3 separate regions of the Homo sapiens genome follow, and all the other regions are linked to region 1. The links are contacts of gene promoters, found by promoter capture Hi-C in human tissues and cell types (Jung and others, 2019). All regions are on one chromosome and are shown on one strand. The core of a region is centred on a gene start or on the middle of the fragment in contact, and the rest is flanking DNA. Distances in the headings are between cores, read along the strand shown. Region 1 holds the start of TMTC1 (transmembrane O-mannosyltransferase targeting cadherins 1). Region 2 has its middle 160 kb from the start of LINC02386. Region 3 overlaps TMTC1 (transmembrane O-mannosyltransferase targeting cadherins 1).

Evidence for each region. The method cuts DNA at HindIII sites, captures the fragments that hold promoters and counts their contacts. A contact is called where the count stands out against the background at its distance.
Region 2: a contact is called between a fragment that was not itself captured here and the fragment with the promoter of TMTC1 in region 1, in 1 of the 25 tissues and cell types used here (mesenchymal stem cells).
Region 3: a fragment that was not itself captured here is called in contact with the fragment with the promoter of TMTC1 in region 1 in 1 of the 25 tissues and cell types used here (spleen).

Annotation. Positions count from the first base shown.
Region 1 is chr12:29,782,131-29,785,602 of GRCh38, reverse strand. It overlaps TMTC1 (transmembrane O-mannosyltransferase targeting cadherins 1), which reads left to right and starts at 1,661. Exons shown (of 18, transcript NM_001193451.2): 1 at 1,661-2,153. The coding sequence starts at 1,852. The HindIII fragment of the contact is 32,748 bases long and covers 1-3,472 here.
Region 2 is chr12:30,138,684-30,142,155 of GRCh38, reverse strand. No RefSeq gene overlaps it. Among named protein-coding and RNA genes, the nearest start is that of LINC02386, 160 kb to the left of the region's middle. The HindIII fragment of the contact is 4,532 bases long and covers 1-3,472 here.
Region 3 is chr12:29,521,675-29,525,146 of GRCh38, reverse strand. The region is part of intron 11 of TMTC1 (transmembrane O-mannosyltransferase targeting cadherins 1); the gene reads left to right. All of the region lies in intron 2 of LOC105369714 (a long non-coding RNA gene), which reads right to left. Among named protein-coding and RNA genes, the nearest start is that of OVCH1, 26 kb to the right of the region's middle. The HindIII fragment of the contact is 4,073 bases long and covers 1-3,472 here.

The DNA.
Region 1 (3,472 bases), core at 412-2,911:
TAGACTTTTATGGTGTTAACCACACACACATACAGACGCACACACACGAGCAGCTTTGGGTCTTCCAATCCTATACTTAGCACATTGTAGCACAAAGAATCTCCTTAATATATTTTTATTAAGTTAATAGGTGAATAGGAAAGGCTGTAGTGTGTTATACGGGGAAATAGACTCAGGTGTGTCTAGATATTAAAGTCGGTATATTAAGGTTACCAAGCGTGAAAGATTTTGATGGAAGAATGAAAACATCCATGTCCAGGACTTCCAGTTTCATTTCTCAGTCACTAATTTCAAGTCACCAAATAAACAAAGTGAAAATGGGTGAAACGTACTTTGAGTTACAATAAGTTTATCTTAATTCATTGACTTTTCAACTGCTCAGATGTCTTAAAATTTTTTAAAAAGTAAGTTGTTATAGTAAAGAGCCACACAAATACTCATAGCAGAGGAACAATTTCTGGATTATGTCGGTGAGCTTTTTAAGGGTTTGGGGAGGATGAGAATAAAAGGGTGACTTTTTATTTTCAGTTTTTCTATCTGGATGTGTCAAATTCCTGATAACTTCTAACACTCAGCAATGGAAATTTAGAAGGTGCCTGAAAGAACAAATAGAATTTTCAGACCTGGAGAAATTCTAGTAATCATCACTCTGGGACATATTATTAAAATTAGTATTTTAAAAAAGAAAACAATCTTTCAGAAAGACAGGAAGTTTAGGAGCCAAAGCCAGAGGCCCTAATACAAATCGCCCCCACCTCCCCATCCCCCCATCCCCACCTTCTTCCCCGCCCTGTTCAAACACGCCCACAGCCCAGGAAATAATGAGACCCAAGTGATCCAGCTAGATAGAAAAAGTAGTTTGCTTGGCATCTCCCAAATTATCTTGAGCAAACAATAAAATAAGAAATGTTTCAGAAGACAATTCGGCTCCCAGGCCCAAACCAAAACTCGAACCTGGTACTTTTTGTAAGTGCGGGCCAAGAAAGGGGCTGTAAAGTTAAAGAGCCGGTGGCGCCTCTGAACACACCCGGGCAGGGCGAGCAGGATGTCCTTGTCCAGGGAGACCCCTTCTCCTGGCTTTGAGGAAGGTGCTCCCTATCCCCGCGGGTTCCTCCGCCAAGCGGGACGCCGCGCCGGGCGGGTGAGAGAAAGCCCGGGCAGGAGAGCACAGAGCCGGCGACTGGACGCGAGCGCGGGGCGGGTGGAGAGCGTCTCTCCGGGCGCCGCTGCTGTTGTCCCGGGTGCTGAAAAGCCGGGAACTTCCCGGGAAGCAGCGGCACTTTTCTCCCTGGAAGGTGGGTGTGGGGGTTCCAGACTGCGCACCTGCTAAACCCTCCTGGGTCCCCCGGGAGGGGTCCGCCAGATGTGCCCCTTCCCAGCCCCATTCGGGGGAGAAGGATGGGGGCGGGGGCGTGGGGGTGAGCACAGCCGGACACCGCAAGTGGGAACCTGGGGTGTCCTTCCCCGCAGCTCCCGGGCAGCCGCGCGCCGCGAACCCCGGTCCACCTGCAAGCAAGGCGGGCCGGGGGCAGAGGGCGCCGGGCTGTGCGGGGGAACCGGCCCGCGTCCCGGGATTGGGGGGCGGTGGAAGAGAGAGCGAGCGGGCATGCGCAGTGGGGCGGAGGAGGTGGCGATGGCCGGGGGAGGCGGGGGGACTGCTGTTTATTTGCAGCTGGGCCAACTCCGCGGCGCAGGCGGCGGCGGAGCGCGGGGAGCTCGCGGCGGGTCCAGCTGCCGCAGCACCATGCCCGAGCCCCCCTCCGGGCAGACGCCGCGCGCCGCCGGGGCCCCGGTAGGGGAGGATGCCAGACGCCCGGGAGAGGCCAGGGCAGCAGCGGCGGCGGCGGCGCGATGGTGGTGACCACCTCTGCCCGAGGCGGCGGCGGGGACCGCACACCCTCCCGGCGGCGGGGCTGCGGGCTAGCGCCGGCCGGGGCCGCGGCGCTGCTGGCCGGGGCAAGCTGCCTGTGCTACGGCCGCTCCCTGCAGGGCGAGTTCGTGCACGACGACGTGTGGGCGATCGTGAACAACCCCGACGTGCGGCCCGGCGCCCCGCTCCGCTGGGGCATCTTCACCAACGACTTCTGGGGCAAGGGCATGGCCGAGAACACCAGCCACAAGTCCTACCGGCCGCTCTGCGTCCTCACCTTCAAGTGAGTCCCTCACCTCGCGCTAGCCGCCGCTGCCTCCTCTACCCTCCGCCCGTCCCTCGGACCGGGAGAAGTTGCGGGACTGACTTGGGGGCATTTCATTTTTGCCGCCCTTTCCCTCCACGCCTCCCTCCTCTCCAGGATGTGCATGGCACTTTGCTCCGGGATCCACTGCCCGGCTAATCTGGGCTCTCGGGGCGGTTCGGGAGGCGCCGGCTGGGGAGTTGGGATCGAGTTTCTCAACTGTCTGCCCTCTCAGCGGGCTTCTCTCTCGAGGCAGGGCTGGGAGCGGGCTGGTGAAACCGCCTCCGCACCCCTTCGCCTGCCGGATCGTGACCAAGTGGGACTAGCGCGGACCCAGAGGGTTCCGGAGGGGTGGCGGTGGTGGCGATGCTTCCAAGTAGAGAATTTCTCGGAGGCTGTTGGGCAGCTTTGCAGATGAGAAGTGTATCAGCCCCTTAAGGGTTTCGTTCAGATGAGACGAGGCGGGAGCCTTGAGCTGACAGGGCTGCGTGGGTTCAGGAGAGGGAGCAGAAAACTCTCCCGAGCCCCCCAGCCCCCGCCTTGCACCCTTGGCTGCTCCCAGAGGCTCTCCAATCTGCCAGACTTCTCTGGATCTAGACTTTAGAAGGTGCAGAGAGAGGTAACGCAGAGCCTAGGCTTCTCCAGGGACCCTGGGGCCCCAGCCGAAATAGTTTTTCTTTTACAACCTCGGAGTCATGATTCAGCGTTTCTGGTGTGAATAAGCGTAAAGGGAACCGAGAATATGCCAGGTTTTTGAGGGGTGGAGTATTTTCTTTAATTTGAAAAGAAGCCTAGCTTCTGAGGAAAGAAGAGAAGTGCTCATTTAAGGGAAATGCTATCTTACACAATCAGGAGCTTGACTCAACCCTTTATAATGTGGCTCAGCATTGAAGTTCATTTTAACGCGCCGGTCAAAACTGTTGAAATAATATTGGTGCGCTATTATCGGCGTTTTAAGCCTTTTTGCAACGGGTGTAATAGGAACCCGTGTTTATGGTAATGATTATTTGAGACTGGGTTGGCAGCTTGAAAAGCCTGCTCTGGATGAGAGGCTGAGGCCTCTTGACAGGTGTCTCTGATGACTCAGAAAAGGAAACCATAGCAATCGGCAACAATTCATGGGCTTTTGACTTACGTCTTCCACTGAAAGTTTAATGTTTTTAAGGAGAGTGAGAAAATTACATATTTGACTTTGAAGAGAATGTGTTATAGACATTTGTTCTCTTAGAAAGTTGTTCTCGTTTTCTACTGAAAGATAACCTTGGCTAACCTCGCTATTCAGTTTCCCAGATGTTTCT
Region 2 (3,472 bases), core at 608-3,107, 360 kb before region 1:
ACACAAGTGGCAATTTAGTATTTCATTTTCATATACCTTATGCTTTATTCTTCCTCTTCAAAGAAGAAAACACTGTATAAACGATCCTCATATGGCTTAACCTCCTAAAGTGGAATGTTAAGGTTTTATTCCATATGAGAGTGTTGATATGGTTTGGATCTGTTTCCCTGCTCAAATCTCATGTCGAATTGTAATCCCCAGTGTTGGAGGTGAGGCCTAGTGGGAGGTGATTAGATCATGGGGTAGATTTCCCTTTCTGTTGCTGTTCTCATGATAGAGTTCTCACGAGATCTGGTTGTTTACAAGTGCACAGCACCTCCCCACTCTCTCTCTTGCTCCTACTCTGGCCATGTAAGACATGCCTGCTTTCCTTTCCCCTTCTGCCATGATTGGAAGCTTCCTGAAGCCTCCCCAGAAGCAGAAGCCGCCCTGGACAGCCTGCAGATTTGTGAGCCAGTTCAATCTCTTTTCTTTATAAATTACCCAGTCTCAGTGTTTTTTTTTTATAGCCTGTGAGAATGAATTAATACAAGTGTTTAACCTGAAACCAACAATATTTCAGACTATTATTAATGGCATCATATTAGTTACAAGAAAAGTTCAATGAGCTAGGATGGTGCAATTTGTAACAAAAAAATCTGTGACTAAATAATATATTATTAATAAATAATGACACTTTCTTCTGAAGGAAATTGTTGTTAACCATTATTTCTCCTTCCCTTATTTTAAGCACTTTTCCTTGTTGACTGAATTCCTATGAGAAGTTTCTGACTTCATTCAGCTCCTGCCTGTGAGAATGAAATAATGGAATGCATAGGCGTGAAGTTAAACAATAAGTCTCCACAGACAAGATAGCCACCAGATAAGTGATGTCTGTGGATTCATGTTTGCTTAACATATTAATCCCTTCATTTTAAAGTATCTTGATACAAATTTAAGCCTACTTAATAAGTAAATGTTCTTAGAACTCAATGTCATAAAGGTAGATCAAATTTCTAATTTTGGAAGTTTTATCTCTTCCCCCCACAGTTCTATCTGTGTTTCTTGGCATTTCCTCTCATTCAGTTTGATTCAAAATTTCCTTGTTTAAAGACATCCAGGGACACATGTTTGTATGAAAATTTTTCTTTTCTTGGGAGGTAAAAATATTTGTCTTTAGTTGTAGAGCTTCTGATGGCTACGTCAAGACCATTATCACTTAACTTGGGGAAGCAGAAAGGTGGTGGTGGTGATGGGTACCAAGGGTGCAGTCACTTTGTCACAGCATTTGAGTAGTGGCACAAACCAAACCAATCAACAAAACTATTGTTGTATCACCTATTGTTTGTGTATTTGAACTCTGTAATAAGATGTGTATACATTTAGAATTATCGTTTCTTCTGGATGAATTAACTCCTGTGTCATGAAATGCCTCTCTTTATCAACAGTAGTGTTCCTTATTCAGAACATTAAGGAATATTCTGCTATTAATATTGCCACTCCAGCTTTCTTTTGATTGGTATTTGCATGGTATATATTTTCCATTCTTTTAATTTATCTATGTCTTTATATTAAAGTGGGTTTTCTTTAGACGGCACGTAATTGGGTCTTGCTTTTTCTCATCCAATCTGACAATCTTTGCCTTTTAATTGAGGTGCTTATACTATTAATTTCTTTGTTGATATGTTTATATTTAATTTTACCATCCTACTAGTTGTCTTCTATTTGCCCTATTTGTTCTCTGTTCATTTGTTTCCCTTTTATTGTCTTCTTTTGAATTCTTTATGATTCTATTTCACCTCTCCTATTGGCTTATGTATTTGTCTGCTTTGTGTTGCTTTGAAGAAATACTGGAGGCTGGATAATTTACAAAGAAAAGAGATTTATTGGGTTTACAGTTCTGCAAGCTGTACAAGCATGGCACCAGCATCTGCTTGGCTTCTGGTGAGGCCTCAGGAAGCTTTTACTCATGGAATAAGGTGAAAGGGGAGCAGATATGTCCCATGATGAGAGAGGAAGCAAGAGGGATGCCAGGATCTTTTAAACAACCAGCTCTTGCATGAACTAATAGAGCAATAACTCACTCATTACTATGGGGATGGCACCAAGCCTTTCAAGAGGGATTCGCTCCATGACCCAGACATCTCCCACCAGGCCCCAGCTCCAACACTGGGGATCACATTTTGACATGTGCTTTGGAGGGGACAAATATCCAAACTATATCAGTTTGTTAGTTAGTCTCCTTTTTAACTATTGCATTACATATCTTTATCTTACCACAGTCCAGATTCAATAATATGGCCTTCCCCGTATTGTGTAAGCATCTTACTATCATTTATTTCCATTTCCTCTGTCTTGTCCTTTGTCCTACTGTTCCCATATATTTTACAAAAGATACTGTGCCTATTTTGACTTCAGACAATCATCTTTTAAAGATATTAAAATTAGGAAAAATGTCTTTTATATTTACCCACATTTTTTATTTTCCTGTACCCTTTCTTTCTTTGTGTAAATAGAAATTTCTATCTTATACCACATTCATTCTGCCTAAAGAACCTCCTTTAGCATTGCTTGTCATGCTGGACTACTGGCAAATAATTACTCTCAGATTTTGTTTGTCTGAAAAAAAAAATTCATTTCACCCTCATTTTAGAAAGGTATTTTCACTAGAAACAGAATTCTGGCTTGACAGATTTTTTCCCTTCAATTCTTTCATGATGTTATTCCATTGTCTATTGCTTACATGATTTCTGATAAAAAAAATTGTGCTAATTCCTATCTTTGTGCCTCTGCTGGAAATGTTTCTTTTTTTCTCTGGTTACCTTCAAGATTTTCCCTTTATGTATGGTTTTAGCAGTTTGACTGTGATGTGCTTGGCTTGGTATTTATACTGCTTAGATTCTCTGAACTTCTTGGATCTATGGTTTGTTTTCTTTCATTAATTTTGAAGCTTACCTCTTCAGATACTCTTTCTGTCCTGTCCTCCCCTTTCTATATTTTGTCTGGTACTCCAAGTATATGTATGCAAGACCATTTGATGGCCCCACATCTTTGGGATAATCTGTTCTTTTTTCCTTACTATTTTTCTTTGTGGTTGAGTTTGGATAATTTCTATCAGCCTATCTTCAAGTTCACTGATTCTTTTCTCTATTGTGTCCAGTCTGCTGATAAGCCTGGAAAGAATTCTCCATTATGTATACACTGGATTTTCTATTTGAATCTTTTTTAGCGATTTCATCTCTGATGAAATTTCCCATTTATTAATACATGTTGTCCACCTTTTACACTAAACCATTTAACACATAAGTTATAGTTCTTTTAAAGTTGCTGACTGATAGTTTCAACATCTCAGTCATTTCTGGGTTAATGACAGCTGAAAAGAGCACACTGCTTCTTCTGGCAGGCCCTCAGTTGTTATCAGTGGTTGAGCTGGGTTTGTTGTTGATGCTGCTGTAGTTACTCTCAGTGCACCAGTCTTCAAATTCCTCAGCGG
Region 3 (3,472 bases), core at 382-2,881, 260 kb after region 1:
CACCCACACTACAGCAAAACTTTGGGACCTCAAAGCTTAGGTTCATAATCTCACAACTGAAAAGGGCCCTCCAGACTCTTTGACCTATACACCCATTTGAAACCTTAAGATAAAGCTAATCAGGAAAGTTTCTCCCCAAAACAAATGGCATCCTAGACATGGACAGCTTTCCCAAGATCACAGATCAAGACTTTTCTGCTATCATCAGACTCTTACCTCTCTTAATTTTTTCCTTGCTTATGCCTCTATAAACAATAAAACTAAAAAGGGAGATTTGTGTACATCATGAGGTATAACTTTATTTGTAGAGGACTTTGCAGCCAGCATTATACATTGACAGTCTTATGCCTGGGTAGAAAAGATTCAGGACCAATGTGAGCAAAAACATTTAATGGCATCTTTATTCTTCCATAATCAGTCAGAACCAGAACATTGGTTCATTCCTTTTAACCTACATCATAGGTTTAAAACAACACTGCCAGGGGCCTTCACTCTTCTAGTGAAGTTTAAACATGGAGTTTCTTTACACTCTTCTAGACATAATTCTTAGGCCCCTTTTCCCATAATTTAAAGGAGATAATGATTACAATTCATCCCTCATAATAGGCTCCATAACAGATTGTACTACAAAGACTGATTACACAAAAGTCATCTTTAAATTCTCTTGCTAAGGTTGTGCTGGATAATAAAATTACTCTAGATTGTCTACTGGATAAACAGAAAAAAATCTGTACCATTACTGACTCTATTTGTTACATGTAAATAAATGCATTGACTATTACAGAGATTTGGTTGTAGGGTATTAATAAACAGACTGCTTGATTAAAACAAGTAGACTCCTTTTCTGGCTCATTCTTTGATCTATTTCATTTTAGTTGGTTTGGTTCATGGAGATGCTGACTAAGGAGCATACTCCAAACTCTTGATTTGATCTTCTTGATCATTATAATTGTCTCTCTGGCACACTATGTTCCCTCAAAAGTTTTCAATGGTTACATACAGCCATTTGTAAAATGTCAAATGGTCTCTCTTTAATTGAGATGACAAAAACTCAAAAAAGAGTGTTCTCATAAAGACATCATAACCAATAAATGATGTACTGAGACCAAAACCCTAAAATAATGGTAACTGAGAATGGCGTTAAAAGCCTAATGGTCACACTCACCTAAGTAAAATCATAACCAAAAGGAAGAAACTGTTAAACAAAATTAGGAGATGCCATTATTTTGGACTGAGTTCATACAATAGGCCCCAGCAGACCAGACCAAACCAAAATAGAGTCACTCATGCTAAGTGTGACATAATCAAATTAAAATTTTTTAAAAAAATCCTAAACAGGTAAGTCCTAAAATAGACGCGAATTTTCTTTCTGCCCTCCAAAAAACAAGAGATTCCAACACAGAGAGGTCCCCTGTACTCTCTTTCAAAAAAATAACCTAAAAAAACCATCTTACAAAGCTCACTGTTCTGCTATTTCCCAGTAAAACTTAAGACCAAATAAGTGCCTTTACGATAGTGGTAGAGTGAAATCAATGCCTACAGTTTTGGTTCACCTCTCAATTTTGAGGGGAGCATTGTTAAATGTAGCCTAAAACTGCCTCCTTACATATTTTAAGCTTGCCCTAAAAGTTTCTCTGTACCTAGTAAACTGTAACCTAACTGGATGCATAAACAGACCACCTTGTGCCTATTTCTCTCCTACCAATCAGCCAATCAAGACAGCCAGCTGTTCAAACTATGTTCAAGTGAGACAAACACTGAGCTGTAACCAATTCAGCCATTTCTGTACCTCACTTCTGTTTTCTGTAAGTCGCTTTCCTTTTTCTGTCTGTAAATCCTCCCTGACCACATGGCAGTGGCAAAGTCTCCTTGAACCTGTTCTGGTTCAGGGGGTTGCCCAATCTGTGAACTCTTTCTTGCTCAAATAAACTTTGTTACATTTAATTTGTCTAAAGTTTTTCTTTTAACAATGGTGTTCGTGAAATATTTGTCAAGGAAAGGGAGGGAGGGACAGGTTGGATGGATGAACAGATGGACAAATACCCAAAAGTGTAACTGTTTATGCCAGTCATGTTTGTTTATTTCCAAAAATACTGCTTTTATTCAGGGCTCCCCAATTCCCCATTGGCCCACTGAAAACCTAGCTTCTATTCTCTGTCCCCATGTAGCTATGAGATTTTGGATAAGTAAGGATAAAGACCAGCATGATAAACCAACGTGCTGACCATGTGCTGAGCATTGTTCTAAGTGTTTCAAATGTTTTAATAGATTTAATCCTCAAAACAACCCTATAAGATAAGTATGATTGTTGTCCCTGATTTACAGTTGGGGCACATGGTGGGTAAGAAAGGTCACACAGACAGTAGATGGTGGGGCTTGGATTTGAATCCACGCAGTCAAATCTTGGGAGCCTCGTTCTTAACCACTATGTCATACTTCTATAGCCATTGCAGTAAATGCATGTGGAATGAATGGATACATGAATATACACCCTATGGTACTCTCTAGATGTTAATTTTCTCAGGTTGTTATATAATTTCTGTTCTGCCTGTCTTCATTACACACACACACACACACACACACACACACACATTGTCAGTCCTTCAATGGACGAGAGCTTCAGAAAGCTTCTCTTCAATAGATTGAAAGGAAATATTTTGAGACTTTAATTCATCTTTAAATTTTTTGAATTTGATAATTTGTTGAGTTTGGCAATTAAAAAACATATATTTAGAGACATGGATCCTTATTTTTGCTGGAGTGTGGATGAAGTTTGACAAACCACACCTTGTTCCCTAATGTTACTTAAATGTAGGAACTCAAATAGATGGCATTGGTCATTCTACAGAGTGTAAAGTATATGTCCCTTTCTGGGTCAAATCAGATTTGGGCTTCTTGGCTTATTGTTCAGCCCTCAATGTAAATATCTAAACACATAATCACAAGCTTAAGGTGCCACGTCTCAGGAAATTGTTGCTCTACATTCCTTTGTCATGTGTCTGGTTGAATGCTTGGTAGGAGTAACTTGAGATAAGGTTTTGGAAAATGTCCATACTCAGGGCATATATGTATTTTTTAAAGCTGGCATGTGCTTTGTGCCAAATCATCTTATTTTACATGACCATCGCAGCTGTACTAGGAAAAGATGACATTTTGTTAACTTGTGGGTAAATAAGTCTTAGTATCTGGGAACCTTTGATTAATTAATTTCACCTTCTGTATAGTAAAAGTAAGTGTGACATAACAGTCTCTAATGGTTGTGAAAAATATGCCTAAAAGGGCCAAGTGCAGTGGTTCATGCCTGTAATCCCAGCACTTTGGTAGGCCAAGACGGGCGGATCACTTGAGGCCAGGAGTTTGAGACCAGCCTGGCCAACATGGGGAAACCCCATCTCTACTAAAAATACAAAAATTAGCTGGGCATGGTGGCACATGCCTGTAATCCCAGCTACTCAGGGAGCTGAGGTGGGAG